Regions from separate parts of the Homo sapiens genome. Here all the other regions are linked to region 2. Evidence: promoter capture Hi-C in 16 types of primary human blood cells and fetal thymus (Javierre and others, 2016). All regions are on one chromosome and are shown on one strand. Each heading gives the region's core, a stretch centred on a gene start or on the middle of the fragment in contact. The rest is flanking DNA. Distances are from core to core; before and after follow the strand shown.

What was found. The method cuts DNA at HindIII sites, captures the fragments that hold promoters and counts their contacts. A CHiCAGO score of 5 or more calls a contact.
Region 1: a contact is called between a fragment that was not itself captured here and the fragment with the promoter of ZNF366 in region 2, in 4 of 17 cell types (M2 macrophages, M0 macrophages, endothelial precursors and 1 more). The highest score is 8.3, in M2 macrophages.
Region 3: a contact is called between a fragment that was not itself captured here and the fragment with the promoter of ZNF366 in region 2, in 1 of 17 cell types (endothelial precursors). The highest score is 5.0, in endothelial precursors.
Region 4: a fragment that was not itself captured here is called in contact with the fragment with the promoter of ZNF366 in region 2 in 1 of 17 cell types (M1 macrophages); the score reaches 6.1 in M1 macrophages.

Annotation. Positions count from the first base shown.
Region 1 is chr5:72,850,055-72,853,319 of GRCh38, forward strand. It overlaps TNPO1 (transportin 1), which reads left to right. Exons shown (of 25, transcript NM_002270.4): 3 at 1,190-1,265. Among named protein-coding and RNA genes, the nearest start is that of MIR4804, 27 kb to the right of the region's middle. The HindIII fragment of the contact is 5,274 bases long and covers 1-3,265 here.
Region 2 is chr5:72,505,533-72,508,845 of GRCh38, forward strand. ZNF366 (zinc finger protein 366) reads right to left here and starts at 1,878. Exons shown (of 5, transcript NM_152625.3): 1 at 1,719-1,878. The HindIII fragment of the contact is 5,585 bases long and covers 1-2,802 here.
Region 3 is chr5:72,868,537-72,871,933 of GRCh38, forward strand. All of the region lies in intron 6 of TNPO1 (transportin 1), which reads left to right. Among named protein-coding and RNA genes, the nearest start is that of MIR4804, 8.4 kb to the right of the region's middle. The HindIII fragment of the contact is 3,294 bases long and covers 139-3,397 here.
Region 4 is chr5:72,832,470-72,835,479 of GRCh38, forward strand. All of the region lies in intron 1 of TNPO1 (transportin 1), which reads left to right. Among named protein-coding and RNA genes, the nearest start is that of TNPO1, 17 kb to the left of the region's middle. The HindIII fragment of the contact is 463 bases long and covers 1,149-1,611 here.

The sequences.
Region 1 (3,265 bases), core at 497-2,996, 340 kb after region 2:
CAACTTTCTGTTGCTGTGAGAGGAAAACTACTTTAGCTAAGAATACATACTGCTGTTTCAGAGTGCCTTATTTTGTTTCTCCTAAGAAGATAATATATTTAATTATTATTTTGTATAGGCTTTTGAGTACTTTTTGAAAGACCGCTATAATAGGATAAAGAGATGTAGCTTAAGTTGTAAAAAGGTAAACTTTATCAGGAAATAGTTTTGAAAAATTCATTGGCATATCAGCTTGTTGTTAATCTGGGCCATTCACTAAAACAAGAATTACTGTCTTGGTTGGAGAAAGTAGTTACACCTTGCAGTTTTACTAGAGACTATGTTGTTGGTTCGTTTACTTTCTGACCCATAAACATTGAGGGTATTCAAATATGTAATAAATAGCTAATAAAGTGTTACTGGAGTTTGATTCATGGATTTAATCAGAAATTTAGATTTGTTGGGTGACAAAACATTTTAATCTTTCTGTGTAGTAAAACACAATTGGGAAGCATGTTAGTTAGGGGTTGGGAGTCAGGGCTTGAAGAAAGATGTAATAGAGCATTTTGTCACAGCTGCCTCCCGACAGCGATGAAATACCTGCAAATTGGTATCACTAAAAATGTTGCATCTTGGGGATGAGGGGAAGAATTGTACAGCTGTAGTGCAATAATCTCATAATGCTGACTTTATAATAAGATATATAGCCTTGTGCATAAATGGCACTTTATCTTTTTGGATTCTAAAGAACAAATGAGTCTGAGAAGTATCTTTTTTTTAAAAGTTATTCTATAAAGTTAATTTCTCTAAATGATCTTCAACTCTGAAAGACTTGTTTTCATTTGGAATGCTTTTATTTTTGTCATTTTATGCTTAAATACCTTTCTATTTAGAATGGTTTAAAGTTGAAATCCAAGAATTTTTTTGAATATTTTTTGCTATATTGAGCATGCTGAAGCTGGAACTTTCTTATGTTGTATTGCATGTAATTGATACATTTCAGCCATAAAGCACCTAAGAGGTTTAGCAAGCACTAGCGTGTTTTTGAAATAGATGTTGATAGATTTAGTAAGATATCCTTATTCTTAGTTTAAAAAAAAAACGCAGGACTGAAAATACCACCAAAGAGATCCTTGATTTTTAGATTTAAAATGCTTAATTTCTTCCTGAGATTACACAGAGAAGTTTCCTTAACTACTGTTTGTTCTAGAAACTGGAACAACTTAATCAGTATCCAGACTTTAACAACTACTTGATTTTTGTTCTTACAAAATTAAAATCTGAAGGTAAGTAGGATTTGTATTGATAACTATTTAAAGTTTCTTTAAGACCTGTTTAAATGTACTGAGAATTATTCATTTCAAAGGATTTCATTTTGTAGTAACCTTGTGCTTTATAGATGTGGGATAAACAGTCTTAGTTAATACCACTCAGTATTTACATGTTTAATAAGAATTCCTTTTTTTTAATGTATATACAGACAGAGTCTCACTCTATCACCCAGGCTGGAGTGCAGTGGTGCGATCTTGGCTCACTACAATATCTGCCTCCCGGGTTCAAGCAATGCTCATGCCAAACCTCCCTAGTAGCCGGGATTACAGGCATGCGCCATCACATCCAGCTAATTTTTTTGTATTTTTAGTAGAGACAGAGTTTTGCCTTGTTGGCCAGGCTAACCTTGAACTCCTGGCCTCTGGGGATTCGCCTGCCGCAGTCTCCCAAAGTGCTCGGATTGCAGGTGTGAGCCACTGTGCCCAGCCAGCATTCATTTTTAATAGGGTGTTTGTATAATAAGTTACTTAATTCTTTGCAGATGAAAAACTTGTTGCAAAGTCTACTTTAATGTTTTGCTTTCATGCATATAGATGGATATAACAAAGGTTGTAATACAAAGATTGAATGTAGGTTTTAATAACTGAATATGTGTGTTTTTTGTAGAAAAAAATTGAAAGGTCATATAATCAAAATGAAAAATTATTTATCCCATCTTCCAGAGATGATTATTGTTGATCTCTTCAATTATATCCTTCTCTGCTCTTATATGGTCACATACTATTTTAAAATTATTTAGCAAAAAGTGGGATCATTCTATTGATAAGTAGACTTTTGTAACTTTTTAAAAAACTTCTAAAAGTCTACATGAAACTTTTTCATGACTCTTAATTTTAAATTTAAATGATTTCTATGACAGTTTAAAGCCTGAGTAGTCTGATTTTTAAATAACATGGTCATTTGATTATTTCTAATAATATGTAACGCATCCCACTAGACATTATTTCATAAATATTTATGGAGCGCCATCTCTGCCATGCAATTTACAGGCTCAGGAGAGAAAGGTGAACAAAACAGACAAAAATCACTGCCCTCAAGGAGCTTACGTTGTAGTGAGAGTTGTTTCTCATAGCATTATTTGGGTATTCCCTCCCTGAAACATTGTGGACACATAGAAGTCAATTAAATATTTATTGCGCAACTGATTGGCCTCTAAATGAAAGCGCTGTACCCTATTCAGTGATTAGTGTTTTAGAAGCCATGGTGCAATTAATAAAATCACTGCACTTGGAATTGGGAAATAACAAGGTTTAGACAACCAGACCATCTGTAAAGTTTCAGCTCCAAATTCTGACAGGTTAATAGTGTTATTGTGTAGTAAAAACTCACTGATTTGTATTCAGATTTTCATAATTCTTGCACGGTGATTTCTTTTGAATTATTTTCAGTTGATTTTGTAGTTAATTTGGGGGATTTTAATTTGTGAATGAAGGACACAATAGAAAATTTAGAACTCTTAAGTCTAGGTTTTAAGAAACTAAGAATTATTTCAACAATTAATATTCCTAGTTTGATATTTGCGATACATTGCTTCTTAATATAGAAATTTTTCTGACAGTTTGTGATCAACCTGTTTGTTTCTTATACTAAGATATTTATAAATGGATTTTTTAAATCTAATTGTTTTATTTGAAATTTTTAAATTTATTTTCACTAAGCTGTCCACTCTCATGTTCTTATCCTACATTCCAAATATTAGGATTGTTACAATATTATACTCTTGAGTACAGCTTTCTTGGGATATAAGGATACTTCCTTCAGGCCAGGCAAGGTGGCTCTTTCTTGGGATATAAGGATACCTCAGGCCAGGCAAGGTGGCTCACGCCTGTAATCCCAGCACTTTGAGAGGCCAAAGCAGGAAGATTGCTTCAGGCAAGGAGTTCAAGATCAGCAACATAGTGAATGGTGAAACTCCATCTCTGTAAAAATTAGCTGGCATAGTGGCACACACCTG
Region 2 (3,313 bases), core at 628-3,127:
TTCCTTGTCTTTAACAAATGACTCTGCTGTCATTTGTTTCCTATTGTGTTGCATCTGATGCTTTTACTCAGTAAACAAAACTAGAATGTGTTCTGTGATGTTGTTTTAGTTGAGCACAAAATTCAATACATTATCAAGAGAAATGAAACTGAAAGGAGCAAGTCAAGATCGCAGACCTGCGTTTTCTTCTGGGGCCACAGTTGCTGATAAATGATGCAATAATGCCCTCGACAATCTATTCCAGCTACCTCTTGATCTGAAGATCTATGGAAATGGAGTAGTTAGGGGAGGTGGTAGGGTAGCAGTAAAACACTTTCAATTGTTATTAGAATAATTTTGCATCCGCAAGCTGGCAAACGCTATTCACGTCTCTTTACATTGCTCGTTTTATGATGCTCCTAAAGAAAATCCTTGAAAAAAGGAGAAGAAAAAAGAGGTCTGACTAATGGAACAAAAGCTACATCACAGTCTAGTTCTGTCATGTTTTCTCATCCTTAGTAAGATGATGGTTCAATTTTGAATAAAGATTAATTACTTGAATGTGGTTAAAGCATAGTCTAGCCAAATTAATTTTTAAAATGAGAGTCCAGCTATTTTTATCTTATTCTTCACATCCCAGGTGATTTCAATCAGTAAATTTCATAGCAGTGAATATTTTTAAAAAGTATGCTTGGCCATTGGCTTTTACCCATTCGGCATCTCTCTGAATTAAAGTATTAATATTGGGAAACATAACGAGTCTCTCGGAGTGACCTTGCTGACCTATTTTTGACAACATGATTTCGGCTCCCTCATGGCTTGCGATGATAGGTGCTGGTAACATTATCCTTTATGACTAATCTAATTGAAGCAAGTTAGACTTTTAAAAACTAGTTGTGTATGTTAGCTTGACTAGCTTGCTACGCCCTATTTGGTGCTTGGAAAACCAGGCACTGGGTGAATGCTTTTCAATTGCGTCTGTAACTTAGTTTTTCCCTCCTACTGACATAAATGATCCATCTTAATCCTCCCATTCTAGCTGCATATTGTTTTCCAAAACTAAAGCTATATGCCCCAAAACCTTTGCCTTCTATCATGTGGCAGATGACATCTTCCACTGACAGTGAATAATAAATTTACACTCAACCCGCATGGGGAACCTGAACACATAAGCTCCCCACATGCAGAACTATTTCCAAGTGACATTCCCTTCTCTCTTTCCCTTCTACTTCAGTGATGCAGAATAACCATCATATAACAATTAACAATCCTCCTTTAGGGGGATGCTGAATGGAAAGAAAAGAACAGGAGAAGGGCACCTCAATCCAGGTAACGTATTAACAAAAACCCCAGAGCAAACCACAGTCCTTAACAGACACCCTGATAAGGCTCCCAGGACACAGTACTGAGGAAGAGCAAATTCTCCAGTGGGACACATCTCACACGCCAGTGGCTCCTGGTTCTCCCAGCCACATGATCTGTGCCAAAATTCAGATTTAACGCAGTGTCCTCTTTAGTCCCAATGTAATTCTATTTCTAGTTTTGCCAGCCTTAGTTCTGCAAAGCATCAGTATTCTCTTACCAAAAAAAAGTATTAGCTGAAATTCTGGGCCATCTATCACTTATACCCTTTGGTTAAGGACTACTCCCAGTAAGGTATTTTCTGTTGAAGATGCCCACAGCAGTATCCACCCAGGAACCTTGAAAAGGAAGCAGAAATGATTGCATGGGTAACTTACCAGCTCCTGAGGTCTGAATGGCTGCAGCAGCCCCACTCCTTTACCTGATCCCTGCTCTCTCTGTCTCTCTCCCTCTCTCTCTCCCTCTTTCTCTTGTGTACAGATTGCAGGGAACTTAAAGAACTCGCAGGGACAGTGTTTCGAATGACTTAAGAAAGAGAACAGGAACAATACTTCGTTCTCTTTTTCTCAGATGAGTACCTTCGGGAAGAAGGAAGGAAGGGAGGGGAGAGGGAGGAAGTCAACAACCCTTTGCTTTCCTGAAAAAAAATAAGGAAACAGAAGATAGACATCTCATTTTCTCTTAAACAAAATGTTGGAAGGGGCAAAAAAAAAAAATCTTTGAAAAAAGGAATTCCTCAAATATGTTCTCTGCCCTGGGAGCTTTAAAGAGATGAAACGCCTTAGTGGCCTGTCCTGTCCAAACAAACGGTGTTCCAGACAGGCAGGCTCTCCTGAGCCTGCAGCCTCTGGTATCTGGTTTGCAGAACTGACACAGCCGAAAGGGAACAAATCATGTCATGTCGACTTAGAGCAAGGGAGAGCTTGGCCTGTTGTGCTAACCAAGGTAAACCTGCAGCCTGTAAGACAGTGTCGGGGCTGGGCAGCCAGGACTCCTGGCTTTTCTTAGGCCCTTTGAAACACCAGCATTGCTGCAATTCCTCGCTGACTCTAGATCCTTAGAGTTTTTCCAGGATCAAATAGCAGATTTATGCCCACCGAACTTTATACAGTGGACCCAATCCAGCTTCCATCACTGATGGATGAAAAAGGAAAAGAAGCAACTAACCACAACTGCTGCCGGCCATGGTTATCTCAGATCTGTTGTTTATATTATTCTATCCTCTACATTCCTAAGGCGTCTTGGATTTAATCACCTCTGGAAAACTGGAAGGAGATTTCTAATTTGTTTTCAAAATACTGTGAAGCAGCATAGGGTTTAGATAAATCAGCCATGGTGTTCGAAAAAAGATAGGGGAGGCAGGAGCAGTTAAAATGGAGGGAGTAACCTTTATCAAGGTAGAAGACTTGGGGCTTCAGCAGGCAGGCATGAGCTTGCTTAGGCTAGTTGCACTTAGGAATAAGCTTGGTTTTAACTTCTCTGATTTGTGTTATGTCTCTTGTGTCCCTTATTCATCTGGTTAGGACCATTTTCACTGTGAACAGGAACCAGCAGTTATGTAGACCTTTGTGGCAGCAAAAGAAAAACCAGCCTTACACTACTTCCTCATTTCACCCAACTGTGAAAAAAATGGGGTGGACAGATACACCTGATTGCAAAGAGTCATGAAAGTGAGTTCAGGGGAAGAATGATTCTGATTCAGTGACCCTGTAAGATTTTGATTGAGTCCTTATTGGCCTATAGGATTATGTTTTTATTCTGACAGATATTTTTCTATCATCTATCTGTCTATCTATCATCTATCTATCTATCTATCTATCTATCATCTATCTATCTAATCTATCCATATATCTATCTATCTCCCTGTCTATCTAGTTATCTGAATATGTGTGCATGTATCAGAGAGAGACATGAAGATTTTGTTACTCGGTAGGTGTGCACAAGCCAGAGCAGAGTCCCATTCCTTGCATCC
Region 3 (3,397 bases), core at 536-3,035, 360 kb after region 2:
TTTCTTGCTGTCACATTTATTTTATAGTCCCTTCTCCCCATCAGTTTAAAATGTCACCTCTGTTATATGCTTAGTTATATGCGTGCATAGGTGTATTAATGGGCCCTCTATTTTATTCTATTGCTGTTTCATGACTAAAGCTTCAAATTGAATTCTGATATATCTTAGAGCAAAAATTGGAGTGTTTGAGGCTTTTTTCTTTTTTTAACAAGTTGCAGTTACTTAAAGTTTAGGCTGGGCGCGGTGGATCACCTGAAGTCAGGGGTTCAAGACTAGCCTGGCCAACATGGTGAAACCCTGTCTCTACTAAAGATACAAAAAATTAGCTGGACGTGGTGGCGGGTGCTTGTAATCCTAGCTACTCGGGAGGCTGAGGCATGAGAATCACTTGAACCCGGGAGGCGGAGGTTGCAGTGAGCCGAGATCGTGCCATTGCAACTCCAGCATGGGCAACAAGAGCAAAACTCCATCTCAAAATAAAAAAAGTTTATAACATATTGCAATGAATTTCTACACAGCAAGGAAAGAGTTGTACAAACAGCTCAAACTATATTAAGATAATTTTTCCGTATTTTTATTGTGTTCTGGCTTATCTCAACTTGAAAAAAATTTTGGGTAACGTTACTCCTATTTATAAGGTAAATTTATATTATGTCCCAGAATGGAATGAAAATAAGGCCTACAGTTTTACAACATATAAAATTGGCAGAACTTTTAAAATAATAAATGGCAGGGCGTAGTGGCTCACACCTGTAATCCCAGCACTTTGGGAGGCTGAGGCGAGTGGATCACCTGAGGTCAGGAGTTTGAGACCAGCCCGGCCAACATGGCAAAATCCTACCTCCATTAAAAATACAAAAGTTAGCCTGGCATGGTGGCATGCACCTGTAATCCCAGTTACTTGGGAGGCTGAGGCACGAGAATCACTTGAACCCAGGAGGCGGAGGTTGTGGTGAGCTGACATTGCGCCACTGCACTCCCTCCTGGGTGACAGAGTGAGACTCCATCTCAAAAAAATAAATAAAGACAGTTTTACCTTATAAAAATATGAGTTGAAGAAAGGCTAAAAATCAGAATTTGACCTGGAATATGCAGACTTTCAGGATGAGAAATTAGAATTGAAAATATACATGATTTAACAGAATTACTCTGAGCTTACTAAATACCTCAGATGCTTCTGGGGGAATATTTTCTTATAATCTATAAGGAAGAGATCATATTGGAGAAAAATTCATTCTTCACAAACAAATGCCATTTATATAGTATCAGACAGATCTAATTAACAAATTGATATTGATTATGAATATGTGACATGAGTAATTATTCTGCCTTTGTTATTGCCTTTGATCACCAGAAATCAATACAAGGAAGTTTTATTTTTATATACACAGATATCCATAGCATTCCAAGTTTATCATCTGTATTTCTGGCCTAGATCTGATTCCTTTTATTGGGAAATGATATTTAGAGCTTTCAGTAGGACAGTAGGAATGCCTTTTCTCTTCCTTATAAATTCTACAGTTGTCAAGTTTTATGAAAAGCCTTGTTGGAATTTACGTTGGAATAACATTAAATCTGTGGATCAATTTAGAAGAAATAGTCATTTTCACAATACTAATTGCTTTTTTTTTTTTTTTTTTTGAGACGGAGTTTCACTCTTGTCTCCCACACTAGAGTGCAATGGCATTATCCCTGCTCACTGCAACCTCCACCTCCCAGGTTCAAGCGATTCTCCTGCCTCAGCCTCCCAAGTATAGCTGGAATTACAGGCGCATGCCATCACTCCCAGCTAATTTTTTATTTTTGGTGGAGATGGGGTTTCACCATGTTGGCCAGCCTGGTCTCCAACTCCTGACCTCAGGTGATCCGCCCACCGTAGCCTCCCAGAGTGCTGGGATTACAGGCGTGAGCCACCGTGCCCAGCCAATTGCTTGTTTTTAATGAAGTTTTCTACTTTTCTTTTTAGAGGCCTTGAACATATTACATATTAAATGTATTCCCAGGCACTTACTTGGTCTTATGATACTATTGTAAATGGTAGCATTTAAGTTACACTTTCTAGTTTTTTCCTTCATTGCTGATGTATAGAAACTATATTAAACTTCCAAAGAAAGCACGTCACACTGTTTCTTTTAATTTAAAATGTAAGTCCTAACTGTTCCCAAGTTTCTAAAAATGGTTTGGGGAGGCTAGTAGTAGGTGCCTCTGGAGGTTGGGGATAGGAGAGATTTCTGCCTTTAAATTTTGCCTTACATGCACACAAAAAAAATGCAAGTTAAAAGATTTCTGTTCTTGATTTAAAGGCCCTTTAAAAGACTTTATTGTATTTTTTTTCCATTTGTTTACTATGCCAAGTACTTAACATATATATTAGCTCATGTAGTTTAATCCCCCCAACAAATGAATGAATTGTAGGTTGCTGTTGTTTTTGAGACAGAGTTGGTTTTTTTTGAGACTGAGTCTCTCTCCATCGCCCAGGCTAGAGTACAGTGGCGCGATCTCGGCTCACTGCAACCTCCGCTGCCCGGGTTCAAGCGATTCTCCTGCCTCCTGCCTCAGCCTCCCGAATAGCTGGGATTACAGGCATGCACCACCAGGCCCGGCTAATTTTTGTATTTTTAGTAGAGGCAGGGTTTCACCATGTTGGCCAGGCTGGTCTAGAACTCCTGACCTCAAGTGATCCGCCCGCCTCGGCCTCCCAAAGTGCTAGGATTACAGGCGTGAGTCACTGCGCCCAGCCAGTAGTAGTTTTATAGAATGAGAAAAACACACTTTAAAGCATAGGTAGCTTACCCTGTGTTGAACATTTAAGGGGTTGAGCTCCCCATAGTATGCTTTTTTCACTTAATGTTATCTTGGTAAATGTTTATGTGCTTTGCTGTAACTGCAGAACCAAAAATCAACTGTTTTTGGCACAGTGGTTAAGACAAAGAAAGGTTTTCATGGGGTTATATTTCAGAAGAGGAGACAGGACAGATAATGAATAAGTAATATGATTTCATACAGTCATGAGTACAATGGAAAAATAATGAGATCAGGGATAGACAGTGATTCAGAGATACTTTATGTAAATGGCTGTCTGTAAAGGAAACGTTTGTGCAAAGACTGAACAAAGTAAGGAAGTGAGTCTATGAAAGATGGTGAAGGATGTTTAAGACAGAACAGCAAGTGAGAAGTCTCTGGAATTAGGAATCAGCCTTTTAGAGTGACAAAAGAAAGAAACTTTGGGTTGTAGCAGCATAATGGGAATTGAAGTTAGGGGGTAAGGGAGGAGCCACAGTATAAAGGAATGTCTAGGCAAGTAGTCAGCAAACTATGTCCCATGGAGCCAAATTTAGCCCATGACCTGCAAGGTAAGGATGATTTTTAAATTTAAGAGGTTGTAATTAAGAGGGAA
Region 4 (3,010 bases), core at 130-2,629, 330 kb after region 2:
TTTATGCTTGTTCATACAAAGCAGATATTCATCTGCTATATTTGTCAACAGTGGTACCTCCTGGAAATGCCTAAGAGATGTTGTAGGTCCTTTGAGATATGGAGTGTCTGAGTCTTGAGAACCAAGTACTACCTGAAAGCTAGCATCATAGTGAGAGTAAATTGCCACTGTCCCTACATCTTCTCCTGTTGTAAAGTGTTAGTAAAATGAATATTGTGAGGTGTTTTTTCCCTTGATGGCATCAGTGGCAGTGATTGTCAGTGCTCAGAAACAAAATAGTGTAATTTGGAAAAGATAGGGGAAGAGAGGAGAGGAGAGGGATAGAAGTAGATGGGGAATGAATTCTGTTGTCCGTAAAGAGGTGTACACCTGAATTGGCAGATGACTTTATTCTGGGTTTTCTCTACTCTTCCCACTCAGTTTACTCTCCACCCATCTGGGTATATTCATTAGACTTCCTACCTTTCAGAGACTTGCATGTCAGCTCTCAGATTTACATTGGTGTTCAAATCAAAGGAAATTAATTCCCATGGCAGTCATCAGCCTTCATTGTACCAACCCTGCAATTCCTAGAGAACTCCCTGCTGCTGAAAACTGCCTTCTTCCTGATGGCTTTCTATTTCTAATCCATGAATGACTTAAAATAAACCTCCCCTTTTCTCTTAGACAATCCGAATTTGAGTTATTCCCCCTCTTGAAAATAAAAGAGCTTAATCAGGATAGCAATATTAGATAAAAATTCAAATATATACCACATGATTATATATATTACATAATTATATAATGTTATGTATTATGACAAACTAGTCCCAAGATGTTTTTGCTTTAAGTGGAAGAATTTGAATGTTTTAGGGAGTTCGTCCACCTCTACCTCCCTAAGTGCTGGTATTACAGGCATGAGCCACTGCACACAGCCCCTCTTAATCTGTAATGTTGGTTTCTGGGTCTTGATTTCCCCATTTTTAAAATAAGAGGATTGGATAGATGTTGTCTAGTACTCATTACATTCTGAAGCTTAGATGCTATGATTGCCATTCTCTAATTACAGTTAAAGTTAATAAATTTTTATTTTGTGGGCTGAGGGGAATGAATGGACATGATATTCAATTGGCCAACAACTTAATATCTCTATTTGTAAGACTAAAATAAGCTTTTTAACCTAAGATTCAGTTTTAAGGGTCCATGCTTATAAACTGAACACTTTCTTAATGTGTACAGATTAACATTATCTTTTGTGTCCAGTGTCATTTCAGATTTCCTTCCCATCTCACATTTCATTCTGTTTTTTATACTCATGAATTTTTATACGTCTCATTAATCCTGGTTGAGCCTCAGTGTTTCTTTATCACAGTAACAGAAAAATAATGTGAACACTTACAGAATATATGCTGCTGTTTTTTGTACTAAACTTTTAGTTGTACGGTAGTCTATCATATGACATTAGTTCCTACTGATTTTTTCCCACTTTTGGACCATCTCTATAGAATTTTCTTGTCCTATCCCTTTGCATAATATGAGGTGCACCCTCCATTAACTACACTCATGCATTTCAGTCAACGATGGACTACATATACCATGGTGGTCCCATAAGATTATGATAGAGAGCTGAAAAGCTTCTATTGCGTCTTGATGCTGTAATGCAATGCATTACTCACTCATATGTCTGCGGTGGCCCTGGTGTAAATAAACCTGCACTGCCAGTTATATAAAAATATAGCACATATGATTATGCACAATACATAATACTTGATAATGATAGTAAATAACTATTATTGGTTCATGTATTTACTATATTATTGTTATTTTTAGTGTACTTCTACTTATTTTTTAAAAAGTCCACTGTAAAACCACCTCAGCCAGGTCCTTCAGGAGGTATTCTAGAAGAAGGCATTGTTATCATGGGAGATGACAGCTCCATGCTTGTTATTGCTGCTGAAGACCTTCCAGTGGGACAGGATACAGAGGTGGAAGACAGTGGCATTGATGACACTGACCCTGTGCAGGCCTAGGCCAATGTGTGTGTTCGTGTCTTCATTTTTAACAAAAAAGTTTAAAAAGTAAAACAAAAATTAATATAAAAAAGTGTGTAGAATACAGCTATAAGGAGAAAATATTTTTGTATAGCTGTACAGTGTGTTTGTGTTATAAGCTAAGTATTAAAAGAGTCAAAACTTTTAAAATCTAAAGTTCATAAAATAAAAAGTTACAGTAACAGCTGAGGTTAATTTATTATTGAAGAAAGAAATTGTTGTTTAAGTACAGTAGTGTACAGTATTGTCCTAGGCCTTTGCATTCACTCACCGCTTACTCTCTGACTCACCCAGGGCAACTTCTAGTCCTATAAGCTCCATTCATGTTAAGTCCCTTATATTGATAAACCATTTTTTTATTTTTCATGCTTTTTATACTTTATTTTTTATTTTTATGCCTTTTATCTTTTTATGCTTTTTTACCATACCTTTTGTATGTTTACATATGTGTAGATACACAAGTACTTACCATTGTGTTACCATTGCCTGCAGTATTCAGTACAGCAACATGCTATACAGGTTTGTGGCCTAGGAGCCACAAGCTATACCATATAGCCTAGGTGTGTAGTAGGCTATACCATCTAAGTTCATGTAAGCACACTCTATGATGTTACAACAACAAGGAAATTGCCTAACAATGCATTTCTTAGACCGTATCCCTGTCCTTAACTGACACATGACTAAGTTTTTGCCCGTATACAATTTTTGTACTGATTTAATTCATGTCTGCTTTAATGTCCACCACTTGGTTTCCATTTTTTTCTTTGTTCTTATTCTTCCAATATTTCTGTTTTGATTTTTCTACTTTAGAATATCACCTGCCTTTGTCTGTTGCTGTTGCAAAATACCTTAGACTGGGTAATTTACAAAATAATAAAAATGTATTTCTCATAGTAGTACACAGCCTGGGAAGTCCAGCCAATTTGATATCTAGTGAAGGCTTGCCCTCTGCTTCATAAATGGAGCCTTCTTGCTGCATC